Linked DNA regions of Homo sapiens: regions 1 and 3 are each linked to region 2. The links are contacts of gene promoters, found by promoter capture Hi-C in human tissues and cell types (Jung and others, 2019). All regions are on one chromosome and are shown on one strand. The core of a region is centred on a gene start or on the middle of the fragment in contact, and the rest is flanking DNA. Distances in the headings are between cores, read along the strand shown. Region 1 overlaps ATE1 (arginyltransferase 1). Region 2 holds the start of TACC2 (transforming acidic coiled-coil containing protein 2). Region 3 overlaps TACC2 (transforming acidic coiled-coil containing protein 2).

The links. The method cuts DNA at HindIII sites, captures the fragments that hold promoters and counts their contacts. A contact is called where the count stands out against the background at its distance.
Region 1: a contact is called between a fragment that was not itself captured here and the fragment with the promoter of TACC2 in region 2, in 1 of the 25 tissues and cell types used here (pancreas).
Region 3: a contact is called between a fragment that was not itself captured here and the fragment with the promoter of TACC2 in region 2, in 1 of the 25 tissues and cell types used here (adrenal gland).

The regions. Positions count from the first base shown.
Region 1 is chr10:121,823,821-121,827,949 of GRCh38, forward strand. The region is part of intron 10 of ATE1 (arginyltransferase 1); the gene reads right to left. Among named protein-coding and RNA genes, the nearest start is that of ATE1, 100 kb to the right of the region's middle. The HindIII fragment of the contact is 5,400 bases long and covers 38-4,129 here.
Region 2 is chr10:121,987,384-121,991,459 of GRCh38, forward strand. It overlaps TACC2 (transforming acidic coiled-coil containing protein 2), which reads left to right and starts at 1,780. Exons shown (of 23, transcript NM_206862.4): 1 at 1,780-2,105. The HindIII fragment of the contact is 30,860 bases long and covers 1-4,076 here.
Region 3 is chr10:122,129,050-122,133,143 of GRCh38, forward strand. TACC2 (transforming acidic coiled-coil containing protein 2) reads left to right here. Exons shown (of 23, transcript NM_206862.4): 6 at 3,560-3,685. Among named protein-coding and RNA genes, the nearest start is that of BTBD16, 140 kb to the right of the region's middle. The HindIII fragment of the contact is 5,552 bases long and covers 1-4,094 here.

The DNA of each region.
Region 1 (4,129 bases), core at 1,488-3,987, 160 kb before region 2:
TTTAGGATACTCCAAAATTGAAAGTTTTATACACCTTATCATATATCTGATAAGCAATGCCATTTACATGAATTTCAATTCTTAAGTTCAAACTCTTCTCGTGGGTAAAATTAAAATGTGAGTTAAGGCAAACTCTGGGCAAGCTAACCATCTTGAGCTTCAATTTTCTCATCTGTAATGAGAAGCTTAGAACAGTAAAGAACTGCTTTGACTCTGGTGTGGCAAAATTCCCCACATGTGACAGTGTTCTAAATAAGAATTTGTGATGACCATGAGAATTCTTTTACCTCCCACTACCTCTAGGGGGCATCAAAAATCCCTTACTAAATTCTCCTGTGGTAATTTTTCTCACTGACTACGTCTAATTCACAGGACATCTGACATCAAGAAAACATGCTGAATCAAAAGAATCCAGTATTTTGTCCTGTGCTGTGGGTTAACTGATGAGATCATTTGTATTCCTTTCAGTCCAGTAGTAGCAAAGTCACCTACCACGTGTGTCCACATGCATCACCCCGGCCTGCAAGGCTATAGTGAAATAACATTTACCAACGTGTTTGGTCAGGAAACTTTGAAAAGCTTGGAAACTTGGGGGTTTCAGTAGTGCATGATTTTGCAGACGCAGCTCTGTTAATTCCATTTTTTTGTAGGTGCTTACTATCATAATAGTAAGGCCAAGCACCTACTTTTGGGCAAAGCCCTGCAGAATTCCAATTCTCACAATCAAGCTGAGACATTCACATAAGCATAATTAATCACAGACGGATTTAGCCTTTTGTTTCTTTTCTGACATTTCAGAACTCTTTCTGATGTTTCAATGATCTGATGTCTGGCCACATCATGATACCAAACAGACCGCCTGAAATCACTTTGTCTACTTTGGACAGCATACATGTCTGTATAAAAAATTCAGTCAAAATACCTTCTTCAGATCATAGAATGGCCTTACACAGCACTCTGAGAGATAATATGGGGGAAAAAATTTAATTATGCCTAACAACATTTCTATATACTCTAATTTTCATTTTCAAATGTAATCATTTTGAAATGAGAAGGGGTTAAAAAGAGAGAACTAAGCTTTGCATGCAAATAATAAATATTTGAAAAGCATGGGAAACCCTATGTTTACAGTAAAAAAAAAAAGTGAATAGCTATTTTCAAGCATACGCCAAAAAGGAGACAAAGTAAAGAAAAAAAGGAAAAAAGCCTATATATAAAATTTTGAGATGTGAAATTAATACAGTAATTTTAAGAATGGATTAATTTTAAAAGAAATTATAATTTCCACCAACCACCTTCCACTTTAATTTAAATATTAAGTTATATAATAATTTATTAAATAATATAGTTTCCACTAATTCCCAAGATGGAATTATGGGAAATAAAGTAAGGTTAATATGATGAGTATCATTAGGCACACAATTAAAATCTGAATGAAGGTTGAAAGGACTCATTTCTATTGAAGTTTTCTTTCCAACAATACAGGTTACAAATATGACACACAGACAGAAATGTTTAAACCAACAGCTCAGTTAAAAATATATTTCATATCTCAGTTTAAAGAAAATATTGGCTTAGGCAGAAATTTTAAAAATTTTTCAGATGTTCACACTCTGCAGGACCCTGTGCTCAAGGAAGCAGTTTCTCCCATTACCAACCATGCTTGCCTTAAGTCTAACTCCTTACCAGTGATTAGCTCACATACAAATAAGAGGCACAACTCTGACAAACGAAACATGTGAAGTCTGCTAGAAGGCTTCTCAGTGAGGGTTTCCTCAATCTTAGGAAGAGACACAAACCACCTCACACCCATTACAATAGCTAGTATTAAAAGGAAAAACAAACGGCAGCCCAGAAAATAACAAGTGCTGGTGAGGATGTGGAGAAACTGGAACACTTGTGCATTGCTGGCAGGATGTGAAATGGTATGGCCTTATGGAACACAGGGTGGCAGTTCCTCAAAAAATTAAAAATAGAATTACCTTTGATTCAGCAATTCCACTTACGGGTATACACAAAGAAGGGAAAGTGAGTCTCAAAGAGATATTTGTACCCTGTGTCCATAGCAGCATTATTCATTAACAGCCCAGGGATTGGGGCAGCCCAGATGCCAATGGATAAATGAATAAACAAAATGTGGTATATACAGTGAAATGTTATTCAGCCTTAAAGAGGAAAGAAATTGACATATGTGACAACATGAATGAATCTTGAGGGTATTATGCTGAGTAAATTAAGTCAGTTACAGAAAGACAAATGCTATGATTCCACTTTTTTGAGGTACCTAGAATAGTCAAATTCTTAGGGGTGGGGAAGGGGGAGCTATCGTCTATTGGGTACAGAGTACTGATTGTGTAAGATGAAGAAATGACATGGAAGGTGGTGATGGTGCACAGCAATGTGAATGTACTTAATATCACCAAACTGAGCACTTAAAAGTGTTTAAGAGGGTAAACATTATGTGTATTTTACCACAACCAACAAGAATGTTTTTTTTTCTTTTTGAGATGGAGTCTCGCTCTGTTGCCAGGCTGGAGTGCAGTGGCGCAATCTCGGCTTACTGCAACCTCCACCTCGTGGGTTCAAGCAATTCTCCTGCCTCAGCCTCCCAAGTAGCTGGAACTAGAGGCATGCGTCACCACATCCACTAAACGTTTTTGCATTTTTAGTAGAGACAGGGTTTCACCATGTTGGCCAGGATGGTCTCAACTCTTGACCTTGTGATCCACCCTCCTCGGCCTCCCAAAGTGCTGGGATTACAGGCATGAGCCACCGCACCTAGCAACAATAATTTTTTTCCAACTTTTATTTTAGAATCAGAGGGTACATGTGCAGGTTTGTTACAAAGGTGTATCGTGTGATGTTGAGGTTTGGCGTACAAATGAATCTGTCACCTAGGTAGTGCGCACAGCACCCAACAGGTAGTTTTTCAGCCCTTGCCACCTTCCCTCTCTCCCCACTCTAGTAGTCCCCAATGTCTACTGTTCCTCTCTTTTTAGTTCATGTGTATCTAATGTCTAGCTCCCACTTATAAGTGAGAACATGTGGTATCTGGTTTTCTATGTTAGCTCACTTAGGAGAATGGCCTCCAGCTGCATCCTTGTTGCTGCAAAGTACATAATTTCATTCTTTTTGATGACTGTGTAGTATTCCATAGTATATCTGTATCACATTTTCTTTACTGTTGATGGGCAATAATTTTTTTTTTTTTTGAGATGGAGTCTCTCTCTGTCGCCAGGCTGGAGTGCAGTGGCGCAATCCCAGCTCACTGAAACCTCCGCCTTCTGGGTTCAAGCAATTCTCCTGCCTCGGCCTCCTGAGTAGCTGGAACTACAGGTGTGCGCCACCATGGCCATCTAAATTTTGTACTTTTAGTAGAGACGGGGTTTCACCATGTTGGCCAGGATGGTCTCAATCTCTTGACCTCGTGATCCACCTGCCTCAGCCTCCCAAAGTGCTGGAATTACAGGCATGAGCCACTGTGCCCAGCAAATTTTTTTTAAAAAGAGGAGACAGAGGAGAGAAAATTCTTTTCTGATTCTAGTCACTGCTGATGGCCCGCAATTCCTGAATGGGCAGCCACCACCTTGGAACTGTAAGAGAAGCTGACCAAGAGGACCAGCACCACTGCGGACAGCAGCCAGAAAACCACACTACCCCTCCCGCTTCAGCAGGATGAGCTCCTCCCAGGAGAAACTCTTCTCAGTTGAAAATACAATTTCCACTAATTTCAACCAGTGCCTGAGTCCCCGAACTGATACTGAGCTACACTAAAACAGTACCAAGTCTCATTACAATGGCCACAATTATTACAATAGCTCATGTGAGCAATGACAGCACAACATTTGAAGACAATTTCCTTTCATCAATGACTGTATTTATCACCTGTCATTAAATTATTTTGTGACTATCTTGTGCCTTACATGTAAGACTATGGTCATGGACAAAAAATATCTATGTAATGTAATGTAATGACTACAGAATATATGCAATGTAAATCAGTCTTTATTGAAAACCCATAAACAATGAACAATAAAACCAAAAAATTCAACAAAAGCATTTTAGAGAATATGATGCACAAGAATATAACTGCTACTTATTAGCAAAATTCCTTAGGGAGGAGAATTTA
Region 2 (4,076 bases), core at 530-3,029:
CCCTCCTTTCTCAGGGACCAAAATCGCCTTTGTAAGACTAATGAAAGGCCACAGGAATAGGATAATGGGAGAAGGCAGAACTCTGCTAAAATGTAGGCATAGTTTCTATAGTCCCTTAATGCCCAGGGGTCATGTGGCCAGAGTTCACAAGATCTGTGACTTTCCCAATTGCTCCTGTAAGTAACATCACTATTGTAGAACTTAAGATTGGGGTGTTTGTTTGTTTGTTTGTTTTTGTATTTTTAGTAGAGACGGGGTTTCACCATCTTGGCCAGGCTGGTCTCGAACTCCTGATCTTGTGATCCACCCACCTGGGCCTCCCAAAGTGCTGGGATTACAGGCGTGAGCCACCGCGCCCAGCCAAGATTGAGTTTTTTAAGATGTTTTTCAGACTGACCTCACTCAGACTCATGACTCATGACTCAACAGGTCCTGGGGCCCCACCCAGAGGCAGACTCAGTGCATGAGGACTGCTTTCCACACCGGTATGATTTCATCCCCAACCAATCAGCGGCACTATCCCCCTACCCCCTGACAACCAAATTGTCCATAAAAACCCTTGTTCCGAGCCTACAGGGAGACTGATCTGAGGGATAACTCCAGTTCTCCCACGTGGGCTCAGCCTCGCGGCAGTTAAACTCTTTCTCTATTGCAATGCCATGGTCTCAGTGAATTGATTTTTGTCTGTGCAGTGGGGAAGAAGAACTTGTTGGGTGGCTCCAGAACCATCTGTATAATGATGAATAAGACAAAGTCCCTACTCTCATGGAGGAGACAGATAATAAAGAAAAGAAAAAAAAAGGATTTGGTCATTGTAAGTGCTATGAAGAATTTAAATAGGCTAAAGGGATAGGTGGAGAATAGAAGTTGCATTTTTTCTTTCCCTCCAGATAGAGTCTCACTCTGTCACCCAGGCTGGAGTGCAGTGGTGCGATCTTGGCTCACTGCAACCTCCACCTCTGGGTTCAGGCAGTTCTCCTGCCTTAGCCTCCTAAATAGCTGGGATAGCAGGCACCTGCCACCACGCCCGGCTAATTTTTGTCTTTTTAGTAGAGAGGGGGTTTTACCATGTTCGCCAGGCTGGTCTTGAACTCCTAACCTCAAGTAATCCACCCACCTCGGCCTCCCAAAGTGCTGGGATCACAGGCATGAGTCACTGTGCCCGACCTGAAAGTTGCTATTTTAGGTGTGATGAGCAGCACAACATCTTTCCTGAGGAGGTGACATTTGAGATGTGACTTGAATTGTGAGGAGTAATGTGTCATGCAAAAATACAGGGAAGTCATATTGTAGTCAAAGGCAATAGCAAAAAAAAGTCTTTGGGGTTAAAATAAGTCTGACACATTCAAGAAAGTTCAGAAAGGCATACATACCTGTGTTAGAGTAGGTAGCTAGGGGAACATGAGAAGGGCAGCAGAGGGCATTCCACCCCCACCCCCAACCAGGAATGTCAGGCGACCATCATGTGATGGTCAGGTGGTTGTTACACTGTTTCTCTAAAATCATCATTGGTTGCAGCCAGCACCAGGGAAAGGCCGGCTCCCAATAGATAGAAAACACCTGAAGCTAGTGTCAGCCGCTTCCTGATAAGATCTCAGGAGTTGGGCAAGTGGGCTCAAGCATGGGCCCTAAGGGGCAAAATGTCAGAGTTTAACTAATATATGACCTTCCTCTAGGAATTCTCGACTGGCAAGGGAAAAATGCCTCAAATGAGCACGCGCACAACTTCAGTAAACACACTGTGAGTGCGGCCACTCCCAAGTGCTGGCAGACCACTGCATAAGTGGACAGCCTGCTCCAAGGGAAGGATCAGGAGAGAAGAAACGCAAATCCCAGAACCGTGCCAACATATAAAACCCCACATTAAGGGTTGTACAGTGCACTGGGATTTCTCAAGTCACCCGCTTGGTCCTCTTCCAAGTATACTTTACTTCCTTTCATTCCTCTCTAAAACTTTTTTAAAAACTTTCACTCCTGCTCTAAAAGTTATCTTGGTTTCTTACTCTACCTTATGCCCCTTGGGCGAATTTTTTCCTCTGAGGAGGGAAGAATAGAGTTGCTGCTGCAGACACATCAGATTCCCTACTGGTAACAGCTGGAGTGCGGTAAGTAAGGAGGAGAGGGCTGGAAAATGAAGTTGGCTCTGATTCCCATTACTTGAAAATACAGGGTAGGAAAACCCTATCTTCTTAGGTTCAGTGGCTGGGGAGCACCATCACTCAAGGTGAGAACTGCCTGGCTGAGCCCAGCCAACTCACAGAACTGTATGAGGTATTTTCATCTACTGTGCTAGGCACCTAGTGAGAGCCCTTTTGCGTCTTTCAACTTTGGAAAAAATTATGATTTATTTTTATTTTTTAAATTAATTTTATTTTTTTTTTTTATGTTTTTAGAGATAGGTTCTTACTCTGTCATCCAAGCCAGAGTGCGGTGGCATGATCATGGCTCACTGTAGCCCAGAACTACTGGGCTCAAGTGATTCTCCTGCCTCAGCTTCCCAAGCAGCTGGTACCACAAGCACATGCCAGCATGTGCAGCATGGGAAATATTTTTATGTTACCACCTCGACACTTTCTTCCTTCTACTTTTCTGTGTCATGTCTGCATCTCCCGTCACTTAGATAGGGACCTCACAGTTTGATTCTCCAGACCTTTAATATTTTTTCATATTTTAAATATTTCTTTAATTCTGTTTTTTGAGATATTTTATTAAATTTACCTTCAACCTTCTGTGGATTTTTTTTTTTAGACAGGGTCTTGCTCTACTGCCCAGGCTGGAGTGCAGTGGCATAATGATGGTTCATTGCAGCCTCGACCTCCCGGGCTAACGCAATCCTCCCACCAGGAGCAATCCTCTCAAGTAGTTGGAACTACAGGTGCATGCCACTAAATTCAGCTAATATTTTTTATTTTTTATAGAGATGGGGGTCTCGCCGTGTTGGCCAGGCTGGTCTCAAACCCCTAGGCTCAAGTGATCCTCCTGCCTCAGCCTCCCAAAGTGCTGGGATTATAGGTATGAGCCACCAAACACTGCCAGAATTTTAAATATCAGGATATAGGAAAGGTTTTGCTTTCGTTTTCAATTTTGTTTTTGTCTTATGGCACGGGGCCAGGCAGGGCAAAGGGTAGATTCCATTGACACTTATTTTTAATTTTCTGCCCAAGTACGTTCCCACCATTGTTCCTGGTGTTTCAGACCCTCTCCAGGGTCTGCAGAGTCTTGTTTGGCTGGAGCCCCTTCTACTCTAGTCTAATGCCCCTCTGCCCTAATTCCTCAACTACCAGGCCGTCACTGCTTTCCATTACCCACAACCATGGAGAAAGCTCTCATCAGCTAATGTGCCTTCTCCAGTTTGCCACATTATTACATTATTGTCTGGACATACCTGTTTTTTTGTTGTTGTTGTTTGTTTGTTTGTTTTTGAGACAGGGACTCGCTGTGTTACCCAGGCTGGAGTGTAGTGTTGCCTTCTCGGCTCACTGCAACCTCTGCCTCCCAGGTTCACTCGATTCTCCTGCCTCAGCCCCCTGAGTAGCTGGGATTACAGGCACCTGCCACCACGCCCAGCTAATTTTTGTATTTTTAGTAGAGATGATTTTGCCATATTGGCCAGGCTGGTTTCAAACTCCTGACCTCAAGTGATCCACCTGTCTCAGCCTCCCAAAGTACTGGAATTACAGGTATGAGCCACTACGCCTCATCTGGACCTACTTGTTTTTAAAAATGCCTTTGTTATCATTTTAATGAAGTCTCTTAAAGGAAAGGAGTTGCATTTGTGTGTTCTGTCTTCTTCAGTAAAGAGAGGGCTTTTATTTATTTATTTTATGTATGGAGATAAATGAACCTTAAACATTGTATATTTTTATTTTTATAAATCCACCTGTTTACTGTCATTTCAAACATTACTTTAAATTTATTTTCCCCTCAGAGCTTTTAAATAATCAGGAGCTCTAAGCATTGCCTGGGAAATGTTTTGTTTTCTTTGCGCTGTCCGCCACATGCTAGTGATTTTCAGCAAGGTTGTGTTTACGTGTATTTCAACTGGGCAAATAGGAACTAATATGAAATAAAATAAC
Region 3 (4,094 bases), core at 145-2,644, 140 kb after region 2:
ATCTTATTTTAATTATTATTATTATTATTATTATTATTATTATTATTTGAGATGGAGTTTTGCTCTTGTCACCCAGGCTGGAGTGCAATGGCACGATCTCTGCTCACTGCAATCTCCAACTCCTGGGTTCAAGCGATTCTCCTGCCTCAGGTGCCCACTACCACACCTGGCTAATTTTTTGCATTTTTAGTAGAGACGGGGTTTCACCATGTTGGCCAGGCTCGTCTCGAACTCTTGACCTCAGGTGATCCACCTGCCTCGGCCTCCCAAGGTGCTGGGATTACAGGCATGAGCTACTGCGCCCGGCCTACCTTATTTTTTGAACAGCCGCAAACGAGTCCATCCTGTGGTTGCGCCTTAATTTGATGAACTGTCCTCTACTGTTGGGCATTTTGGTTGTTTCCAGATTTTTTGCTATCGTGATTCCAGTTGTGATCAGCATATTTGCCCATGCCCTTAATTATCTCCTTAAAATGAATTCTTGGAAGAACCATGGCTGTGTCAAAGGAAACGAAGTCTTTTATGGTTTTCAATGTGTGTTGCCAGAACTTTGGAGCTCTGTTTTTCCACTCAGATTTTATGATTTTGGAAAGTGCCCCTGTAGTTTGCCTGTAGTTTAGGATTCTAGACATTGTGATTCACCAAGACACCCAGCCGGAGCTCCTGCCATCCTCCCTCTTCTGGGCTCACTGCTTCTTCCATTTCTCTTTGCAGTGATCTCTTTCTCTGACTCCTTGGATGTGGTCACAGGGCTTCAGGATCTTGTTCTGGGGGAACTGGAATGGTGGGTGGGAACATGGAGAATGGAGAATAAGCAGTAGTGTGGGTGCACACATGTGCTAGTCCAATCGTATTGAGAGGATAGTTTTGGGAAATTCACCCTGGACCTCCGCACTGTCAATGCCAAAGGCACTTTATGGCTGAACATTGGGTTGAAGCTTCAGGCTGATTCTTCTGCCTAGGATCAATACGGAGTCTCCCTCTGTCACCCAGGCTGGAGTGCAGTGGCGCAATCTCAGCTCACTGCAATCTCTGCCTCCCAGGTTCAAGTGATTCTTGTGCCTCAGCCTCGTGTGGCTGGGATTACAGGCACACACTACCATGCACAGCTAATTTTTGTATTTTTAGTAGAGACAGGTTTTCACCATGTTGGCCAGGCTGGTCTTGAACTCCTGACCTCAAGTGATCTGCCCACCTCGGCCTCCCAAAGTGCTGAGATTACAGGTGTGAGCCACTGTGCCCAGCCAGACTCCCCCTTCTTCATCTGTACTCTAGTTGCAGTGACATTTTGCAGGTCCTCTAGAATACCAAGCTCCTTCCTGATTCAGGGTTTTTAAATACGTGGCTCCCTGAATGGGGGGTAGGGCTGAGGGTCAGGGTATACTCTTCCTTTTTTAAGCTTTAACATTTTTTCTAGAGACAGGGTCACCCTATGCTTCCCAGGCTGGTCTTCAACTCCTGGCTTCAACTGATCCTCCAGCCTCAGCCTCCCCAAAGTGTTGGGATTACAGGCATAAGCCACCGTGCCCAGCCCCTCTTCCTTCCTCTTCCACCTGTGGGACAAAGCCAAGTGTGGAGATTAAGAGCATGACTCCTGGGGTCAGGCTTGGGTTTGTATCCTGGTTCTGCCACTTAGCTGCTGTTCAACCTTCGACAAGCTGCTCAGCCTCTCTGTGCCTTAGTTTTTACATCTGTAAAGTGTGTTTAATAATCGTATCCCCCTCATAAAGGTCGTTGTGAGGATCAAATACAGTGCCATCTATACGCACTTAGAACAGTTCCTGGCACGTATACGTAGTAACCATTAGGAAACACTTGTTACTGAGCTGGCCTCAGCATGCTCACCACACCACAGAGTTTTCCACAACCCCCATTGTGGGCCAAGAGTTCTCAGTTTGTGTTCTCATGACCATCTGCACCTTCCTTCTTAGCAGTTACTACAGTTGTTACTAAATAAATAAACATTTAAAAAAAATGTCTGGGCTGGGCAAGGTGGCCCACGCCTATAATCCCAGCATTTGGGGAGGCTGAAGTGGGAGGATTGCTTGAGCCTGGGAAGTTGAGGTTACAGTGAGCCGTCATGGAGCCACTGCATTTCAGTCTGGGCAGCAGAGGGAGACGCTTTCTCAAAAAAAAAAAAAAAAAAAAAAAATCTGACTCTTGCCTGAAGCTGTCCCATGAGACGTCCCATGAAGGCAGGGACCGCTGCTCTCTTGTTCACAGCAGAGAATTGGTTTTCAATAAGGATCTGATCAAGGAGTGGAAAGAATGGTCCTGCTACTTATGGCTACAGAGCGGAGTTCATCAGAAAGTCACTCAGGGACCTCCCCGATGAAATAATAGGGTAACTGACTACAAGACGATGGGTGTCCAAGGACTGAGCCTCTTCTAGCTTCCTGAGCCACCCTGTGCTTGGAGGTTGCAGACTCTTTCAGTCCATAAAGGACCAGGGTTGTTTTTAAATTTCTAACTCATCATAGATCTAAACTTTAAAAAATATAATTAAATGAATTACTAGAAAAATGAAATAAAACTCAAGGCTGGGGTTTCTCAACCTTGGCACTATTGATGTTCTGGACCACATAGTCCTTTGTCTTGGGGACTGTCCTGTGTGTGGTAGGATGTTGAACCTGTCCTTTTATTATTAGATTTAACAGACATGAACGTAGTCTATCAAATTGCTACAGAGGGGCCAGGCGTGGTGGCTCATGCCTGTAATCCCGGCACTTTGGGAGGCCAAGGCGGGCAGACCACTTGAACCTAGGAGTTTGAGACCAGCCTGGCCAACATGATGAAACCCCAACTCTACTAGAAATGCAAAAATTAGCCAGGCGTGGTGGTGGGTGCCTATAATTCCAGCCACTCGGGTGGCTGAGGTACGAGTATTGCTTGAACCCGTGAGGCGGCGGTTGCAATGAGCCGAGATCACGTCATTGCACTTCAGCCTGGGTGACAGAGCGAGACAGTCTCAAAAAAGAAAGAAAAAGAAAGAAAGAAAGAAAGAAAGAAAGAAAGAAAAAGAAAGAAAGAAAGAGAAAGATCTACAAAGGTTTCTAAACACTTACTTGAGGTTTCTGTACTACTCTTGGCATAGACTGGTGACAGACCCTGCTTTGAGCAGCACCAAACTCATCCCTCACAGAAAGGGAAACTGAGGCCCTGCTCAGGATCCAGATAGAAATGTGCTGTTAAAACACATTGAAAACTTGTAGGAGGCCAGGCACGGCGGCTCACGCCTGTAATCCCCACACTTTGGGAGGCCGAGGCATGCAGATCACCTGAAGTCAGGAGTTTGCGACCTGCCTGGCCAACATGGTGAAACCCGATCTCTACTAAAAATACAAAAAAATTAGCTGGCTGTGGTGGCGGGGCGCCTGTAATCGCAGCTACTCAGGAGGCCAAGGGAGGAGAATTGCCTGTACCCTGGAGACAGAGTTTGCAGTGAGCGGAGATCGCGCCATTGCCCTCCAGCCTGGATAAGAAAAGCGAAACTCCGTCTCAAAACAAAAACTTGTAGGAATGTTTCTGAGTTTAGGTTCTTTCCCTTTTCTCTCCCCAGTTCACCTGTGGCAGATGATATCATCCAGCCCGCTGCCCCCGCAGACCTGGAAAGCCCAACCTTAGCTGCCTCTTCCTACCACGGTGATGTTGTTGGCCAGGTCTCTACGGATCTGATAGCCCAGAGGTACGGTGGGGGCCCTGGAGCTGGTGATGAGACCTCAGGGCCCAATCCTTGAGGCTGCCTTCCCCCGCTCCCCTCCCTTCCCCTCCCCTCCTCTCTTTTCTCCTGCAGTTTCACCCCCTCTGCACACACACACAGGGTGTGCACACCTGTCCTGAACAGGTGTGTGCCAGAGTTGGGGCCTCTTCTTGTGACCTTAGGAATGATCTGAGATACCAGGAAGACCGTTTCCCCTGTCCCGGCCCCCAAGACATACAAGGGGCATTTTACAGACTTTTTTCCTATGTGGCCTTCAGGGGTCCCTATTTGAAACAGAAACCCTCCAGTAGAGAGAACGTGCTACTTCTCCTTTTTCAGGGAACGGTTGAGTTAGCTGCCTTCTGATCTCCTGGGACAGAGCTGGATTCACTGC